Regions from separate parts of the Homo sapiens genome. Here region 2 is linked to region 1. Evidence: promoter capture Hi-C in 16 types of primary human blood cells and fetal thymus (Javierre and others, 2016). All regions are on one chromosome and are shown on one strand. Each heading gives the region's core, a stretch centred on a gene start or on the middle of the fragment in contact. The rest is flanking DNA. Distances are from core to core; before and after follow the strand shown. Region 1 holds the start of FAM216A (family with sequence similarity 216 member A). Region 2 holds the start of NAA25 (N-alpha-acetyltransferase 25, NatB auxiliary subunit).

Region 1 (5,153 bases), core at 1,800-4,299:
TAATGTTTCTAATTTCGTACAAATTCTTTTTCTTTTCTAAACTTAAGACAAAACAACTGATCCTCATCCTGCAATTTATTCAATGACCAAGAGTTCATGGGCCAGGCGCCAAGTTTATAAAGTTTTTGTTATGAACTTTTCACCGCCGCTTCCTTTGCTATTTTATTCCAAGCCACCATATCGTTTTCTTGTATTCCAACTTCTTAATTCTACGCTTGCTCCTTCTAGTTTATTCTCCAACTAGCAACCAGCGTGATCCTTTTTAAGTAAAGTAAGATCACATCACTTCTCTGCTGGCAACCCTCCTGTGTCTTCCTTTCTCAAAGGTTGACTTTATAAGGTATGAGGGAGTTTTGAAGGAGTGATAGAGCTGCTCTGTATCTTTAGTGTGGCAGTGCTTACATAGCCATGTGCATTTGTCAAAACCCATCATATTATACATGAAAAAGTAAGACTTTAATTTGTGTAAATTATGCCTCAATAAACCTGACTTTAAAGAAAAAAAGTGCTGGGCACGGTAGCTCCCGCCTGTAATCCAGCACTCTGGGAGGCCGAGGCGGGTGGATCACGAGGTCAGGAAATCGAGACCATCCTGGCTAACATGGTGAAACCCCGTTCTCTACTAAAAATGCAAAAACTTAGCCAGGCGTAGTGGCACGTGCCTGTAGTCCCAGCTACTCAGGAGGCAGGAGAATCGCTTGAACCTGGGAGGCGGAGGTTGCAGTGAGCCAAGATCACACCACTGCACTCCAGCCTGGGTGACAGAGCGAGACTCCATCTCAAAAAAAAAGAAGAAAAAAAGTAAGGAGTTCCGGAGTTCCCATTAGTTAATAATGGGATTTTTGGCAGATCACTTCCCCTTTCAGATTAGTAAATATGACCGGAATTGATGATTTTTAAGACCCCTGCCAGTGCCAACATTGTATCATGTAGCATAATAAACCTGATTCTAGTTTGAAAATTTTATTTTGTATTTCTGGGAATATAAGCTTTTCATAAATTAGTCTTGGTTTGTGTTTTTTAATGGGGTTCCTTAAACCAAACTGAAGGGCATACTGTCTTTTTTTTTAATTGTAGTTTTAAGAGTTTGGATAAACTAAAGGAAGCATGGAGATGAACGACAGGCGGAGATAAAAGGAAAGGACAAACAACCTCTTTGTGCCTGTTTTGTCATCCATAAAGTGGGGATCATAATAGAACCTTCCAGGATTACAGGCTCATGCCCATCTCTACTAAAAATACAAAAATTAGCCAGGTACGTGGTGGCGCACACCTGTAGTCCCAGCTACTTGGGAGGCTGAGGCAGGAGAATTGCTTGAACACAGGAGGCGGAGGTTGCAGTTAGCTGAGATCGTGACACTGCACTCCAGCCTGGGTGACAGAGGGAGACTCTGTCTCAATAAAAAAAAAAAAAAAAATTCACGTATCTCCTGATACACCAGGATCCTGCAGTCGGCCAAGGACTGTGAAGAACAGAAAAGAAACCCAAGACTCCATCCCATCTTTAAGAAGTCTTCAGTAGCACCAGAGACAAAAAGGACGGCCATGCGGGCGGATCACGAGGTCAGGAGATCGAGACCATCCTGGCTAACACGGTGAAGCCCCGTCTCTACTAAAAATACAAAAAAGTAGCCGGGCGTGGTGGCAGGCGCTTGTAATCCCAGCTACTCCAGAGGCTGAGGGAGGAGAATGGCGTGAACCCGGGAGGCGGAGCTTGCAGTGAGCTGAGATGGCACCACTGCACTCCAGCCTGGGCAACAGAACGAGACTCTGTCTCAAAAAAAAAAAAACAAAAAGGATGGCCATGGGTGCAACAGGGGCCCTGACTGCGGGTTGTACTGAACGGCAAACATATCGCAGTTCTTGCTTTTAGGGAATAAAGTAGGGAGAGGAAGAGGAGGTAGAGTCTCCAGCAGTGACTTCAACAGCTCGCTGTCTTCACTATCTAGGAAATAGGTGTAAAAACCTGCTCAAAACGAAATAGATTTGTGAAAAAAGGAACTTCAGTGTGAAGAAAATGTCAAGATCAAGGCACCTCGGATATTCAGTCATTGGTCTCATTGGCGATTAGAAATCCTCGTTTGAGGTCGGGCGCAATGGTTCACCCCGTAATCCCAGCAATTTGGGAGGCCGAGGCGGGCGGCTCACTTGAGGTCAGGGGTTCGACACAAGCCTAGCCAACATGGTGAAACCACCTCTCTACTAAAAATACAAAAATTAGCCGGGCGTGGTGGCAGGCGCCTGTAATCCCAGCTACTCGGGAGGCTGAGGCAGGAGAATCACTTGAACCTGGGAGGCTGAGGTTGCAGTGAGCTGAGATCGCACCACCGCATTCCAGCCTAGGCAACAGAGCGAGACTGTCTCGCTCTCAAAAAACAAGAAAGAAAAGAAAAAAAAAGAAAAAGAAATCCCCGTTTGACAGGAAGGTGGCTCATGTCACTAGAGGGAAGGAACTGGTTTATGGGCCTGGATGCCCCCAGTTGAACCGGGGGACATCTTCCTCCTCTGTCCCTCCCGCCTCGCCTTTCGGTGGACACACAGTCCTGTGCCAGACAGCAAACGTCCCAGCAGGGCTCGCAGCGCCCCCTCGGGGCAGAGAGATGCACGCGGGCGACTGTCGCAGTCACCTCGTGGCCACTGCACCAAACGCTCCTCCGAAGCTTCCCTCAGAGACCCTCCCTCAACCGCGAGGCAGTCCTCCCCTCTGCCCTCTGTCCACAACAAAACTGCTCCCCGCCTCTCACTTGAGGGCACCGGGGCCAGCCCCCGAGACGAGAGGTCGGCCGCAGCCCTCCTCCACGGGGCTCACGACCCGGGGGCCTCACGACCCGGGGGCCCCATGCTGCCACCCTTACCCCGGGGCCCCCAACCTCACCCGCCGCCGCCACCCTCGGTCCCGGCCACAGCGGGCGGCTCTGCAGAAGAGCTACGCTCCGTCCAGTCGGACCCCGGACCCTGGCCGGGCATCTCCGCGGCGCCGAGACCGCGAGCCGTGTGCGGGAGCAGCTGTCCCAGCATCCCTCCCCCGACAGCACGCGTGCGTCAGGCTGCTGGTATTCCGGAGAGGCGGCTCGGATGCTGGCTTCTCGCCCCTCCGAAGCCGTTCGGACACTGCCCGAACAGCTTCGGGAGAGCGGGGCGGGCAGATCCGCGACCCCGGAGTTACGGTGGGGGAGGGGCAGGAGCGCTGCGGTCGCTGAGCGTTTGCACGTTTGCACCTCTCTGTGGAAGCAGTGCGTCACAGGAGGGAAATATACATGCTCCCCAAAACAAGAGGTGCCTTCCACTTCAGTATTCCAGATCCTCAGCACATTTGCAAATCGCGAGGGTCACCATACAGGTCAAACGTCTGCACGCAAACCACGGACCGAAGCACGTGGCGCAAGGATGCGGAGCTTTATCTGTTGTCCGTTATTACTCAGGTATCCAAGCTTAGACAGCATCCCAACGGCCGATTTCCATCAACTACTTTTGCGCACGCGCAAATCCTCTCCCTCGCCCCTCCCCTTTTTTCTCAGGACGCGTTTCTCACGGGATTTGGCCCGCGGGCTGCCCCGTAGTAGGAGGTGTGGTAGAACTGGAGGCGTAGAAAGAATGTGGATTGCGATTGGTTCGCACTTCACTTTCCCGGAGCTCAGTGGGCGTCGCGCGAAGGCTAAGGGAGTGTGGCGGGCGGCTCCGGGAGCCAACATGCCTCGGTATGCGCAGCTGGTCATGGGCCCCGCGGGCAGCGGGAAGGTGAGGATCTGCGGGGACAAGGAGAGAAAAGTAGGAGTTCGTGGAAGGCGGGAGATTGGGTCCTGAGGGAGTGAGCCGGCGGGTGTGTGTACTGGGAACCCTGAGACCCCACGCAACTCATTTCTGCTGTCTGGCTTCACGTTCTTTTTTGTTGTTGTTTTGAAAGGGAAATAATGGTAGTTGTTAATATTTATTGTATACTTAAGCCCCAGGCAGCAGATGAAACGCCTCGCTTATTTCTACAACAACCCTGTGAGAGAGATCTCATTTTTCTCATTTTACAGAAAACGAGATACAGAAAGGTTAATTAAGTTCTTTGCCCCGCAAAAAAATATAAATCCAGTTTTGTCTCAACTCCAGAATCCGGCCCTGTCTCGCTCCCAGGAGGGTAAAGTGGGGTCTCATTAATTACTGTTTCTCAGAACTTGGGACATGGACTTTTGGTATTTAAGGTGCTTTTAGGTGGTAGGTGGTACATGGACCCCACATTAAGGAGCATCAGATAATGTGTTAGGGAAATTGTTCCCTTTTCATTTCTCTTTCAGTTCTCAACTTCGCATTTAGGAGAAGTTGTGCTCGGTGCTAGTGTGTATCTTCAGCACTTCTTTAATCCCCAGGTCTTTTCAGAGAGCAGTTCTTAGTCTCAGAGCTTTTAATAGGCACCTGTATTTAGCTAAAAATAGAACATTTAAAGATTTTATATAATTTTATGTCTAATTTCACGTTATGTCAAATATAAGTGGTTTTCAGTTTACAGTAGGGATAAAATTTTTTCTTGTAAACAAATATTAAGGGAATGTTAGGAACATTCAAATACAGTGAGAATGGTGAAGATATGGATCAAATAACATATGTGTGGGAAACATAGCCAGGCGTGGTGGCTCACGTCTGTAATCCTATCACTTTGGGAGATGGAGGTGGACGGATCGCCTGAGCCCAGGAGTTTGGGACCAGCCTTGGCAACACGGCGAAACTCTGTCTCTACAAAAAAATGCAAAAATTAGCCAGGCCTGGTGGCAGGTACCTCTAGTCCCAGCTTCTCGGGAAGCTGAAGTGGGAGGATTACCTGAACCCAGGAGGTTGAGGCTGTGGTGAGTGGTGATCGTGCCACTGCACTCCAGCCTGGGTGACAGAGGTACTGTCGCAAAAAAAAAAAAGAAGAAGTGTGGAAACACTAGAGTCTGTGGAGGTGTTGTGTGGCCTCAGTCTTTAACAAACACATTGTTCTAAGCTGTTGACTTATTCTGGGTAAAAACATGTACATGTAACTAAGATACCTATGGCCTTTAACTTACCCAGAGTCTGTAGTCTTTTGGGGAAGACAAATAGATGACCTGTCAATTAAGATACAGTGTGATGTGGCCAGGTGTGGTGGCTTAAGCCTGTAATCCTCGCACTTTGGGAGGCTGAGGCCA
Region 2 (5,634 bases), core at 2,796-5,295, 1.6 Mb before region 1:
AGGGAAATATATCCCACTAAGGATGGTGACCTAAGACTCTAGAAGCCTCTGCTAGGTAGATCCATATGATGCCCTGGTCTTGCCAAGTTCAGGGAGCTGGGTGCCAAGTCTATCAGCATTCCTCTGGGGCCAGGCCAACAAAGGTAGCGTAAGAACATGGCTGAGTAACCCGAGCCTTGGTTAGGAGCCTCATATGTGCTCCCCTTAAAGGTGCTGTATTTTTCCATTCCTGGGAAATTCTTAAATCTCAGGTGACTCATCATCTCTTTCACTTGCACCAAAGGTGAACCCCAGCTCTCCTCCCTCCTTTTCCCTGTCCTAGCCCAACCTCAGCAGGGTCACACACCATCTCTGAGTGATCCTAGGGTCAGCTTGCCTGAGGCATCTGCCCTTCATTGTTGCTGCTTAGCATGATTTGGGGGGCATGGAGTTTCCCCTAGCGCAGGGTTGCCCGATTTAGCAAATAAAAATACAGGACACCCAGTTAAATTTGAATTTAAGATAAACAGTGAATGTATGTATGTATGTCTCAAATATTTTGTTGTACTTTGCCTGATAACTTCATCCCGGGAGTCTTTGTTTGTTTGTTTTTGGAGAGTCAGGGTCTCGCTCTGTCACCCAGGCCGGAGTGCAGTAGTGCAATCATAGCTCACTACAGCCTCAAACTCCTGGGCTCAAATGATCCTTATCCAGGGAGTATTTATTTATTTATATATATTTTTGAGACAGAGTCTCCCTCTGTTGCCCAGGCTGGAGTGCAGTGTTGCAATCTCGGCTCTGCAACTTCCACCTCCTGGGCTCAAGTGATTCTTGTGCCTCAGCCCCCTGAGTAGCTGGGATTACAGGTGCGCACCACCCTGCTCAGCTAATTTTTTTTTTTTTTTTTTTTTTTTTGGAGATGGAGTCTCACTCTGTTGCAGGCTGGAGTGCAGTGGCACAATCTCGGCTCACTGCAAGCTCCGTCTCCTGGGTTCACGCCATTCTCCTGCCTCAGCCTCCCGAGTAGCTGGGACTACAAGTGCCCGCCACCACGTCTGGCTAATTTTTTTGTATTTTTAGTAAAGACAGGGTTTCACCGTGTTAGCCAGGATGGTCTCGATCTCCTGACCTCGTGATCCACCCACCTTAGCCTCCCAAAGTGCTGGGATTACAGGCGTGAGCCACTGTGCCCAGCCGCTCAGCTAATTTTTTATTTTTAGTAGAGATGGGGTTTTGCCATGTTGCCCAGGCTGGTCTCGAACTCATGTCCTCAAGTGATCCGCTCGCCTAGACCTCCTAAGTGCTAGGATTACAGGCGTGAGTCACCATTCCCGACCTCTGGAGTATTTAAATGCCTTCCTTTTTTTTTTTTTTTTTTGAGATGGAGTCTTGCTCTGTTGCCCAGGCTAGAGTGCAACAACATGATCTTGGCTCACTGCAACCTCCACCTCCCGGGTTCAAGCCTCAGCCTCGGGAGTAGCTGGGATTACAGGCACGTGCCACCACGCCTGACTAATTTTTTGTATTTTTAGTAGAGATGGGGTTTCGCCACGTTGCCCAGGCTGGTCTCAAACTCCTGACCTCAGGTGATCCACCCGCCTCGGCCTCACAAAGTGCTGAGATTACAGGCACGACCCACTGCACCCGGCCTATTTATTTATTTATGCAAGAGTCTTGCTCTGTTGCCCATGCTGGAGTGCAATGGCACGATCTTGGCTCACTGCAACCTTTGCCTACCGGGTTCAAGCGATTCTCCTGCCTCAGCCTCCTGAGTAGCCGGGGTTACAGGCTCACACTACCACACCCAGCTAATATTTGTATTTTTAGCAGAGAAGGGGTTTTATCATGTTGGCCAGGCTTGTCTTGAACCCCTGACCTCATGTGATCCACCCACTTTGGCCTGCCAAAGTGGTGGGATTACAGGGGTGAGCCACCAAGCCAGCCTTACCACACTATTTAAAATTACCTCCCTCTCTCACTGCCCCCCTTTCCTGCTTTATTTTTCTCAGTAGCATTTATCACCATGTAATAGGCTATCTACTTATTTATTGTCTGTCTCCCTCACTACAAATAAAAACTCCATTAAGTCTCTGTCTATTTTATTTATTGATGTATCCTCTGTGCCTAAAACAAGAGTGTGTCAAATAATAGGCACTCAATAACTCAGTGTTGTACGAATAAATCTATCTGTAAAAAGAGAGGTAATAATAAGATCTACCTCCCAGGGAAATACGATGACAGTTATGAAAATTAAATGAGAGAATAAATGTAAAGACCTTGCATTTAAATACTCTAGGCAGATACCGAGTAAGTATTCATCTAGGATGCTTCTTTGTTGGCTGAGTCCTGGGAGAAGGGTGTGTGGCAGGCCAGGTCTCACTAACACAGGCCTCCATAACAACTGTTTCAGTACTAACTGAGTGGTTAAGTTACATATTAAAAGCTAAAAAAAAAAAGCCAGTGCCCTTATACAAAGGATGGAATGTAACAAAAGCCCACCAAGAGTTTTGCCTAGGCCTTTCCTTGGCCTTAAAGCATGACAAAATAACGAAAGAATTCCTAACAGGACCCATTTAGGATTAAACAAATTTTATTGGGGGTCTGAAGTAACTCCCCAAACCTCCGTGATTTAGTAGGAGGCAAGATAAGGATAATCACCCCAGCACCTATTGCCATTTAGATTAAGTAAATTTACTGAGGCTTCAAAGGAAAGTCTTCAGGACTCAAACCTTAGTTATAGACTAAAGTGAGTTAATCAATTATTATTATTATTATTTTTTTTTTTTTGAGACGGAGCCTCCCTCGCCCAGGCTGGAGTGCAGTGCCGGGATCTCGGCTCACTGCAAGCTCCGCCTTCCGGGTTCACGCCATTCTCCTGCCTCAGCCTCCCTAGTAGCTGGGACTACAGGCGCCTGTCACTGCGCCCAGCTAATTTTTTGTATTTTTAGTAGAGATGGGGTTTCACCGTGGTCTCGATCTCCTGACCTCGTGATCCGCCCGCCTTGGCCTCCCAAAGTGCTGGGATTACAGGCATGAGCCACCGCGCCCGGCGAGTTAATCACTTATGTCTTTAGATGAATGCACATTTACACGTAGACATATAGCTTAGAAGGTATATAAGCTCTGGAAAGCTTTGTAATTTTAAGTTGGTCTGGTGATAATTTCCAGGCCTTCTCCCTGTAACTGGTTGCAGAAATAAAAACTCGCTTCCTCTCCAGTTCATCTGCATCTCCTTACTGAACCAGGAGAAACAGCAGCCTGACGCTCAGTTTGGTCCAGGAACAGGTGGTGGAGGGCTCTCGAACTTTTTTCTTTTTTTTTTTTTTTTTTTGAGATGGAGTCTCGCTCTGTCGCCCAGGCTGGGGTGCAGTGGCGCGATCTCGGCTTACTGCAAGCTCCGCCTCCTGGGTTCACGCCATTCTCCTGCCTCAGCCTCATGAGTAGCTGGGACTACAGGCGCCCGCCACTACGCCCCGCTAACTTTTTTTGTATTTTTAGTAGAGATGGGGTTTCACCGTGTTAGCCAGGATGGTCTCGATCTCCTGACCTTGTGATCCGCCCGCCTCGGCCTCCCAAAGTGCTGGGATTACAGGCTGAGCCACAGCGCCCGGCTCTCTCGAACTTTTTTGGCAGATTTTTGCTGTTGATCAGCCCCGCTTCCCCAACTTTCCCCTGGGTCTCTCTCCCCCGGGAGTTTCTGGTTCCTCTGCGATTAATCACAGCCAAGTCTAGCTGGTTCTTCAGGACGGAGAATAAATAGGATAAACAGGAGCAGCCGAACCCTAACTTTGAGAGCTTTCTCCCCTCCTCTCCTAACTTCCCAGTCAGTGACTCGGAAGACTTTAACAGCAACAGCTGCCTCCTCTTGCCAGCTTGATCCCACCTGCTAAGTGAAGGAACAGCGTTTAAAGAGGTGGCAATCGGCAAGGGTGGATGCTTCCCTTTCCGCGCAGGCGCGTTCAGTCGCAGCACCGCGACTATCGTGATAGACAAGCGAGATCGACGCTGGCCCTTTAATAGCCCTTTCCCGGGGTCCTGCCCCGCGCGTGCGCACTGTGGTTCTGCGCTTGTCATCATGGCGACGCGGGGCCATGTGCAGGACCCTAACGACAGGCGCCTCCGGCCCATTTACGGTGAGTGTCTTGGACCAGCCCGCTCGCCAGCCCGACGCGCCGAGGGCTGCCGAGGCTGGGGCGAAAGCCCAGGAGGGGTGCTGAGGGCCGGCGCGCGGGCCGGGCAGGCGCAGGGGGGCGGGCCGCGCGGGCCACTAGGCCGCAGCCGCGGGCCTCGCGTAGGCGCCGGCCCAACCTTCCTCAGCCTTGGGGTGGTAGTGGCGCGGTCTGGGCAGCAGCTGGTCGGCAGAGCTGGCCTGCTTGGCAGGCCCCGTGGGACGCGTGGTTCTGCAGACACCTGCGCTACCCGCAGGCTGCATCGTTACCGCCGCTCCTAGGGAGACCGGAGATCTCCCCGAAGGTGGAAGCCGGCTCCGGCACGAGGGTGGGACGCCCTGCCTGAGGGAAGATTCCCTACCAGAGATTTTTTTTTATTTACGGGAATTGGGCCTAGAGGGTTGTCTGACTAGGTGGGCTTCGGTGCATAGGAGAAACTGAGGTCCGGAGTGGGGAAGGGGCTGACGCAAGGTCACCCAGATCGAGTCAGGAGCAGGCCCGAGATTCCAGGCTCCCAATCCAGAGCTGTTGGGTGGAGAAGCAGCTACTCTGGTCACACGTGGGAGGCGGGGGGAGGGGGTCTTGGGCCTAAAATAGCGGTGAAGAGATTGTGATAGCTCGTGTCAGAGGGGCATGCAGAGCTACTGGAGGGCTTCTCCTTTCTGCAGCTTCTCTGTGGTTTTCTCTGCAGCTTTCCTTCCCTGTGCTAAGCAGATCCCTCTCCACAACTCTTACCTCAACCCGCAGACTTGAAGACCTTGATGTCATCTCATCCATTTACCCTGGTAGTGAAAAATCACAGATTTTGAGTTTGGGAGAAACCCTTTTCCAATAACCGAAATGTGTAATTGGATTGGTCCTTTTTGCATTTCCTTTCCTCTTAGATGGTTTTATGGTCTTGGTCTATCTCACTTAATGGTGAGGAAGCTTCAAGGTCAGTGGTTTTTACAAAAGTAGACATCGTATTTATAGACCTCATGTGGATGTTACTAAATTGGAGGCTTCTCTCCAAGGTGGGAATCGTTTTGGGAGCGGGGGGCGGTGGTTAACTTTGTTTCTGGCCACAGTTAGTCCGGCTTTTATTTCATAATTTGTGTGATTTTTTTTTTTACTCTCACATCTCATTTGATTTTAGCAACAATCCTATAGCTAAGGTTTATAGATGACTCATTATGACAGTCACTGGCCTTGGCCTTTTATATGGGTTATCTAATATAATCTTCACCCATTCTCAAGAGGTGGCTACTGTTTTTTCCTGCCCCTGAACCCTTTAACAACAACAACAACAAAAAAAAAAACAGATGAGGAAACTGAGGCTTTATTGTTGTTGTGTAATTTGTCTAAGGCCACTCAGTTAGTATTTCTTGGAGCTAGAATTTGAACCCCTGTGGACTGTTTCAGGCTCACCTTTTTTTTCTTTTGAGATGAGTCTCACTCTGTCGTCCAGGTTGGAGTACAGTGGCACAATCTCAGTTCACTGCACCCT

The links. Contacts are between HindIII fragments. The CHiCAGO score rates a contact against its expected background, and 5 or more counts as called.
Region 2: a contact is called between the fragment with the promoter of NAA25 here and the fragment with the promoter of FAM216A in region 1, in 1 of 17 cell types (fetal thymus). The highest score is 5.6, in fetal thymus.

What each region holds. Positions count from the first base shown.
Region 1 is chr12:110,466,741-110,471,893 of GRCh38, reverse strand. FAM216A (family with sequence similarity 216 member A) reads right to left here and starts at 3,049. Exons shown (of 7, transcript NM_013300.3): 1 at 2,876-3,049. The coding sequence starts at 3,018. It overlaps GPN3 (GPN-loop GTPase 3), which reads left to right and starts at 3,637. Exons shown (of 8, transcript NM_016301.4): 1 at 3,637-3,738. The coding sequence starts at 3,691. LOC124903016 (a long non-coding RNA gene) reads left to right here. Exons shown (of 3, transcript XR_007063459.1): 2 at 1,078-1,255; 3 at 1,443-1,605. RefSeq lists enhancers at 2,306-2,475, 3,396-3,525 and a silencer at 2,676-2,985. The HindIII fragment of the contact is 771 bases long and covers 2,663-3,433 here.
Region 2 is chr12:112,107,194-112,112,827 of GRCh38, reverse strand. It overlaps NAA25 (N-alpha-acetyltransferase 25, NatB auxiliary subunit), which reads left to right and starts at 4,045. Exons shown (of 24, transcript NM_024953.4): 1 at 4,045-4,112. The coding sequence starts at 4,055. RefSeq lists silencers at 4,096-4,175, 4,196-4,275. The HindIII fragment of the contact is 1,965 bases long and covers 3,113-5,077 here.